3 separate regions of the Homo sapiens genome follow, and all the other regions are linked to region 2. The links are contacts of gene promoters, found by promoter capture Hi-C in blood cells and fetal thymus (Javierre and others, 2016). All regions are on one chromosome and are shown on one strand. Each heading gives the region's core, a stretch centred on a gene start or on the middle of the fragment in contact. The rest is flanking DNA. Distances are from core to core; before and after follow the strand shown.

The links. Contacts are between HindIII fragments. The CHiCAGO score rates a contact against its expected background, and 5 or more counts as called.
Region 1: a fragment that was not itself captured here is called in contact with the fragment with the promoter of HORMAD1 in region 2 in 6 of 17 cell types (M2 macrophages, M1 macrophages, endothelial precursors and 3 more); the score reaches 10.3 in M2 macrophages.
Region 3: a fragment that was not itself captured here is called in contact with the fragment with the promoter of HORMAD1 in region 2 in 3 of 17 cell types (M2 macrophages, M1 macrophages and endothelial precursors); the score reaches 5.9 in M2 macrophages.

The regions. Positions count from the first base shown.
Region 1 is chr1:150,830,655-150,833,354 of GRCh38, reverse strand. ARNT (aryl hydrocarbon receptor nuclear translocator) reads left to right here. Exons shown (of 22, transcript NM_001668.4): 9 at 956-1,021; 10 at 1,452-1,537. Among named protein-coding and RNA genes, the nearest start is that of CTSK, 24 kb to the right of the region's middle. The HindIII fragment of the contact is 1,247 bases long and covers 721-1,967 here.
Region 2 is chr1:150,719,492-150,722,191 of GRCh38, reverse strand. It overlaps HORMAD1 (HORMA domain containing 1), which reads left to right and starts at 1,297. Exons shown (of 15, transcript NM_032132.5): 1 at 1,297-1,388; 2 at 2,654-2,700. The coding sequence starts at 2,687. The HindIII fragment of the contact is 2,080 bases long and covers 557-2,636 here.
Region 3 is chr1:150,638,601-150,641,300 of GRCh38, reverse strand. No RefSeq gene overlaps it. Among named protein-coding and RNA genes, the nearest start is that of ENSA, 10 kb to the right of the region's middle. RefSeq lists enhancers at 1-184, 2,649-2,700. The HindIII fragment of the contact is 4,327 bases long and covers 1-2,700 here.

The DNA.
Region 1 (2,700 bases), core at 95-2,594, 110 kb before region 2:
ATTTTTGTATTTTTAGTAAAACAGTGTTTCACCATGTTGGCCAGGCTGGCCTCAAACTCTTGACCTCAAGTGATTCGCCTGCGTCAGCCTCCCAAAGTGCTGAGATTACAGGCCTGAACCACTGCACCCAGCGTGTAATTTAGAGTAGCTTCTAGACCCAGACTGCTGGATTTTGTTTTAATCCATATTCTATGGATTTGAATTCTAGCTTTGATGCTATCTTCTGAAACCTTGGATGATTACATGACTACATTGTGCTTTGATTTCATCATCTCACATTGGCGATAATGTTAATACTGACTTTATAAAGTTGTTATGAAGATTAGATGAATTAATATATGTAAAGATATTTAGAACAGAGCATGACACATATTAACCCTATGTAAGTTTTATTTTTGTTTTAAAGGATAGGGAGAGGGAAAGTAGCATTGGCAGGAGTATCCCAATATGTGGACATGGCTAATGCAAAGACATAGGCAAGAGCAAGATAATAATGAACTGTAGCAATTACATTAAGTTGTGGTTAATGTAGAGCAGGAGTAAGCAAACCACAGCCCTTTATTTGTAAATAAAGTTTTATTGGAACATAGCCATGCCCATATTTTTACATATTATCTATGGCTATTTTCATGCTATAATGCTAGAGTTGACTAGTTGCAACAGACTTTCTGGCCCGCAAAGCTGAAAATATGTACTATCTGGTCCTTTACAGAAAAAGCTTGCCAACTCTTGATGTTGAGAATGTTTGCATATGAAGAACATATGGAACATTTTGACTTCAAATTCTAAAAGTTTTAGAAATACTAAACTTGACCTATCTTTATCCTTCATTATTAGTAGCATTACCAATTTTCTATGTCTGGTTGTATCCAGAGCATGTTATTCTGCTATTACTGTGGAAAGTTCTTTGATAGGGCAGTCTGATTGCTTTTAATCTCTTTATTCCTTGAAACAGGTGTGGCAGTAGCTCTGTGGACCCAGTTTCTGTGAATAGGCTGAGCTTTGTGAGGAACAGATGCAGGTGAGATCCTAAGTGGTGAAAACCAAAGGGATGGCCAAATACCTGCAGAGATCATCACATTTTTACCTGTCTTACTGTAGTCGTTCCTTCAGCAGCTCTCACTTGCATCCCTTACCTCCCACTTAACATCCCTTACCTCCCACTTACTTTTTTTCTGGCAATATTTTCCTAAACTTCTAAAACTTCTCTTGAAAATCCTGTTTAAGGAAGTCGCTATGCTATTTTACCTACTTTCCTCCTACTGCATACCTTTTGGTTACTTTACTTTGGCAAGGGTAAAAATGTGGCGGTCATTTTTGGGTGGGAAAGATGATTATCCTGTTTTCTAAACTCCTAAGAGCATAAACTTAAAAGTACTAAGGCAGCATTGCCCTTTGAGTTTTACGGGTAGATTTTTTTTTTTTTTTTCAAACTCCTGTAACTCTTCTAGGAATGGACTTGGCTCTGTAAAGGATGGGGAACCTCACTTCGTGGTGGTCCACTGCACAGGCTACATCAAGGCCTGGCCCCCAGCAGGTAAGAAAGTGAAATAGTAAATATTTCCCCTTGGTACAGTTGGTTCCTCACAGAGTCCATGAAAGCTAATATTTATTATATACCTGGTATATGAAATGTACTTTTGTGTAAGATGAAAGAAAATAGGAAAAGAAAATGTACAATCCTTCCCTTCCATTATTGAGCTTTTATTCCAGTTGAGGAGATAGATAACTCAGGCTGGAAAATGATTCAGTATTGGCTGTGTCACAGAATGTGGTTTTTATGTGAACAAATTTATACTGAACATATGTATTCTAAGCATTTGTTGCAAAGAAACTTAGACATTGAATGCAGTTAATTTGAGAAAGATTTCTAAAGTAGGAACAAGACTTTGAGAGAAAAGGGGAAAATGCCTTTATTGTAATAACTTATCAAGAGGATATTCTCTGCAAAGACTTTAAATCAAGCTTTGAGCAGATTAGCTTTACCAGAACTTGAGGTCAAACAAGGAATGTGAGAAAGGTGATTGGGTTGCAGGATCAAAGTTTTAAGTTGGCTTGTCAGAGTTTCCAAATCTTAGCAACTTTATTACTTCCCTGCTGCCTGGGTATTATTGGAAAGTAGGGGTTTTGGGGAGACAGAAACTAAGAGAAAAGAGAAGCAAGGTGATGTGTTTTGGAAAAAGGTTAAACTTTGGATGTGGAGAAACCTGGATGTGATTCCTGTCATTGTTACTTATTAGTGGCATCACCTAGGGTAAGTTGCTTGACCTTTATAAAGCTCAGTTTTCTCATCTGTAATTCAGAGTTAGTACATCCTGTATAGGGTTTTTGTGAGGATTAGATTTAATGTAAGGAAAGCATCCAGCCCAGTGCCTGGCATATGGCAGGTAACCCAATAAAAGTAATTAATGTAATTTAAAAAAATTTAACTGAAGTAGTAATGACATTTGAACTACTTAGTCTATATACTATATAAGCCACACAGTTAAAGTATGTGATCTTTCATACCTCTATGTAGCATCAAGGAATACTATTTTTCTGGATAAAAAGAGTATAACTATGCAAAAAACAGGGGAGAAATGCAGTCTTCTTCCCTTTCTGTGTAAAACATTGGTTTTTCTCTTTTCCAAGGGACATGAATAACTATTGATGGTTGGTATAACTTCATTTTGGGTTGCTTGCTAACTTTAAAAGTTACAG
Region 2 (2,700 bases), core at 48-2,547:
AGCCTGGGCGACAGACAGAGCAAGACTCCGTCTCAAAAAAAAAAATTTATATATATATATTAAGATATTAATAGTGTAACCATAATTTTTTTTTTTTGAAACAAGTCTCACTGCCGCCTAGGCAGGAGTGCAGTGGCTCAAACAGGGCTCACTGCCACTGCAAACTCCTGGGCTCAAGGGATCCTCCTGCCTAAGCCTCCTGAGTAGCTGAGACTACAGGTGTGTGCCACAACCTCTGCCTAATTTTTTTTATTTTTTGTAGAGACAGGGTCTCACTTTGTTGCCCAAGCTGATCCCCAATTTCTGGCCTCAAGCAATTGTTCCGCCTCAGCCTCCCAAAGTGCTGGGATTATTGGCATGAGCCACCACATCTAGCCAACATAACTTTTATACACATGGAAAACTAAAAAATTGTGTAATTTGCTTTATTATGTTGTTTGCTTTATTGGAGGGTCTGGAACTGAACTTGCAATATCTCCAAGGTATGCCTGTAATTGAATGTTTACACTGGTAAGAAATGTATTTGGATATATAATAATCTGTAAACTAAGAAGCTTGTACTACTGAATAATCTCCAACTATTAATACCTACCCACTCTGATTTTATTTTGTTTCTAAATGAGACAAATTACATTCAAAGCTATCCATTGTCCCCAATGACATAACACAGTGGAAGTGGCTAAGTAGAAGACTGCTAAAGCAAATGGTTTCCTGAAGATACAGGAGATTGGAAGGTGGGAATGCAATTTGTGGTAGTTCCAATGAGAAAATCAAAAGTCAGCCGGGTGTGGTGGCTCACGCCTGTAATCCCAGCACTTTGGGAGGCCGAGGGAGGCAGGTCACCTGAGGTCGGGAGTTTGAGACCAGCTTGGCCAACATGGCAAAACCCCGTCTCTACTAAAAATACAAAAATTAGCTGGGCATGGTGGCGGACGCCTGTAATCCCAGCTACTTGGGAGGCTGAGGCAGGAGAATTGCTTGAACCCTGGAGGCAGAGGTTGCAGTGAGCCAAGATCATGCCACTGCACTTCAGCCTGGACGACAAGAGCAAAACTCCGTCTCAAAAAAAAAAAAAAAAAAAAAAGAAAGAAAATCAAAAGTCAGAAAAACAATCAGAAATTCAGTAACTGCACATGCAGTTACTTAACCTTCCCCCTTCTGTCTGGCTTTTCCACTGCCTGAGACGTGGCGCTGAGGCTTCCCGTGTCTGAGGCTCCCAGTGCGCCTTGCGCTGCGCTTGGCGGGAAAGGTGACCTCGACCAGGGGTCAAAAAGCCACTGTCGCGCCCCAGCGGGTGACCGTTGAAGGAAAGCGCATGCGCGTCGGGCACAGCGCGTGCAGCCTCGTGCAGCTCTTCTGGTCTCCGGCGCCCGCCCCTCAGACGTAATGTAATATATATTAGTGTGTATATATCTGTGTGTGTGTGCGTATATTTTACTTTTTAATCTCTTTGTCTGTCAGCTTCCCCCTACTTTTAAGTTTCTTAAGGTCTTAGTGGTAAAACATTTGCGGTAAAAATGTATACCCACTTACTTGTCAACAGAGGTTCTTGAGATGGGGTGAGTACGGACGGCGAATTCAGGATTTGTCAGGATAAATTTAAACGTTTAACGTAAATAGGTTCTTCTATGAAGTTTGCCTCTTTAGTAAACTCTTCCAGCTGAATTGTCTGATTAAGAAAAGTGAAACTGGGGCCGGACACAGTGGTTCCGGACACACAACTTCCTGTAATCCCAGCAAGTTGGGCGGCTGAGGCCGGAGGATCATTTGAGACCAGCCTGACCAACATGGCGAAACCCCGTCTCCACTAAAAATAGAAAAAAAAATTAGCGGCCGGGCACGGTGCTTCACGCCTATAATCCCAACACCTTGGGGGCCGAGGCGGGCGGATCACGAGGTCAGGAGTTTCCTGGCCAACATGGTGAAACCCCGTGTCTACTAGAAATACAAAAATTAGCTGGGCGTGGTGGCACGCCTGGAGTCCCAGCTACTCAGGAGGCTCAGGCAGGAGAATCACTTGAACCCAGAGGGGGAGGTTGCGGTGAGCCGAGATCGCGCCATTACACTCCAGCCTGGGCAACAGAGAGAGACACCGTCTCGAAAAAAAAAATTGTATATATATATATGGTGGGCACCTGTGGTCCCAGCTACTCGGGAGGCTGAGGCAGGAGAATCGCTTGAACCCGGGAGGCGGAGCTTGCAGTGAGCTGAGATCGCGCCACTGCACTCCAGCCTGGCGACAGAGCGAAACTCCGTCTCAAAAAAATGAAAAATAAAAACAAATAAAACTGAAAAAGTTTAGAGGGTTTGCCAGGCAATTTTTCATTACTGAATACCTACCTGTACAATGTTGTCATTGTTTGAATTTGTATAGGGAATAAAAATAGGAAGATTGTGCCTTTTTAAAAAGTTCTCTTAAACAGTTTCTTAATAACCCATTTGTTTGAGACTTGCTAGTCAAATGGCTTCAAATCAGGACCCTACTCAAAATGGTTCTACTGCAATATCGACCTCTACGTTTTTGAAGACTCTATTTTAATTAAAGAAATTCAAATTTATTCACATAAAATTGTTTTGAATTTTATATGTGGTAAACTGAAATGTTAGAGGAAAAAAATGAGCTCTAAGTTAAAGCTTGTATTTGTGTCACAAGGTTGAATTAAAGAAAATACTTTATCAGAAGAAGATGGCCACTGCCCA
Region 3 (2,700 bases), core at 126-2,625, 81 kb after region 2:
AAAGTAGATATTTTTTCTTTTGGGAAGTAGGGAAGAAATGGGTCGAATTGAGGAGGGGAAGGCTGGAGAAGGGTGAAGAAAACAGAATAGCCAAATGGATTCTCAGGAACATTATGAATATTTAAAAGGGTGAACATTCAGTCTGAGAAAGCTGATTGAAGAAAATACTGAACAAATTTTCTTTTTGTCTTTGAGACAGAGTCTCTCTCTGTCACCCAGGCTGGAGTGCAGTGACACCATCTTGGCTCACTGCAACATCCACCTCCCGGGTTCCAGTCATTCTCCTGCCATGTTGGCCAGGCTGGAGGCTTCAAGTGATCCACCCGCCTGGGCCTCCCAAAATACTGGGATTACAGGCGTGAGCCACACCGTCTGGCCAAAAAATACTCTTTAAATGCTCAAAAAGTAATAAAAGACTTTTTTTTTTTTTTTTTTTAAGATGGAGTCTCACTCAGTCGCCCAGGCTGGAGGGCAATGGCATGATCTCGACTCTGCAACCTCCGCCTCCCAGGTTCAAGTGATTCTCCTGCCTCAGCCTCCTGAGTAGCTGGGATTACAGGCCTGCCCCACCACACCCAGCTAATTTTTTTTTTTTCCCTGAGACGGAATTTTGCTCTTGTTGCCCAGGCAGGAGTGCAATGGCGTGATCTCGGGTCACCGCAACCTCCGCCTCCCGGGTTCAAGCAATTCTCCTGCCTCAGCCTCCCAAGTAGCTGGTTTCATGTGCGTCCGTGTGAAGAGGCCACCAAACAGGCTTTGTGTGAGCAACATGGGTATTTATTTCACCTGGGTGCCGAAAAGAGAGTCAGCGAAGGGAGATGGATTATCATTAATTCTTATAGGTTTTGGGATAGGCGGTGAAGTTGAGAGCAATGTTTTGCGGGCAGGGGTGGATCTCACAAAGTACATTCTCAAGGGTGGGGAGAATTACAAAGAACTTTCTTAAGGGTGGGGGAGATTACAAAGTACATTGATCAGTTAGGGTGGGACAGGAACAAATCAATGGTGGAATGTCATCAGTTAAGGCTATTTTTACTTCTTTTGTGGATCTTCAGTTACTTCAGGCCATCTGGGTGTATACGTGCAAGTCACAGGGGATGCGATGGCTTGGTTTGGGCTCAGAGGCCTGACAGCTGGGATTACAGGCATATGCCACCATGCCTGGCTAATTTTTTTTGTATTTTTAGTAGAGACGGGGTTTCTCCATGTTGGTAAGGCTGGTCTTGAACTCCTGACCTCAGGTGATCCGCCCACATCAGCCTCCCAAAGTGCTGGGATTACAGGCATGAGCCACTGCGCCCAGCCTAATTTTTTTTGTTTTTTGTTTGTTTGTTTTGTTTTTTGTTTTTTGTTTTTGAGACGGAGTCTCACTCTGTCACCCAGGCTGGAGTGCAGTGGCGCCATCTCAGCTCACTGCAAGCTCCGCCTCCTGGGTTCACGCCATTCTCCTGCCTCAGCCTCCCGAGTAGCTGGGACTACAGGCGCCCGCCACCATGCCCAGCTAATTTTTTGTATTTTTAGTAGAGATGGGATTTCACCATGTTACCCAGAATGGTCTCGATTACTAATTTTGTAATTTTAGGAGAGTTGAGGTTTCACCATGTTCGCCAGGCTGGCTTGATCCCAACCCGCCTCGGCCTCCCAAAGTGCTGGAATTACAGGCGTCAGCCACTGCACCCGGCCAAGTAATACTATTTTAAATGAGGTGGCTAGCTGGGAATGGTGGCTCACTCCCGTAATCCAAGCACTTTGGGAGGCCGAGGTGGGAGGACTGCTTGAGGCCAAGAGTTTAAGACCAGCCTGGGCAACATAGTGAGACTCTGTGTCTATTTTTAAAAAATGAATAGTGAACATATATAGCCAGCACCCAAATCAAGAAACAGATCGTTACCAGCACCCTAGAATCCCCCCTCATACCTTTTCCCAGTTGCTATTTTCTCCCTTAAAGGTAACCACAATCTTGACTTGAAATACCATAGATTGGTTTTGCTTTTGAGGTTTATACAAATGAAATTATGAAATATGTATGTTTTGTGACCATGAATTAACTATTTTACTTTTTTTGAAGATTTGATTGACCTAGTTTGGGGCAACTATAAATAGAACTACTATGAATATGTGTTTTGGTATAACATAAGAATGCATTTCTTTTTTAATTTTTTTTTTTTTTTGAGACGGAGTTTTGCTCTTATTGCCCAGGCTGGAGTGCCATGGCACGATCTCAGCTCACCACAACCTCCGCCTCCCAGGTTCCAGTGATTCTCCTGCCTCAGCCTCCCGGGTAGCTGGGATTAGAGGCATGCGCCACCACGCCCGGCTAATTTTGTATTTTTTAGTAGAGACAGGGTTTCTCCGTGTTGGTCGGGCTGGTCTCGAACTCCCGACCCCAGGTGATCCGCCCGCCTTGGCCTCCCAAAGTGCTGGGATTACAGATGTGAGCCACCATGCCCGGGCTCTTTTTTAATTTTTGTGGATACATAGTGGGTGTATATATTTATGGGTTACATGAGATGTTTGATATAGGCATGCAATGTGTAATAATTACATCAGAGTAAATACAGTATTCATCACCTCAAACATCTATCCTTTATGTTTCCAACAATCCAATTATACTCTTAGTTTGCTTGTTTGTTTGAGATGGAGTTTCACTCTTGTTGCTCAGGCTGGAGTGCAATGACGCAACCTTGGCTTACTGCAACC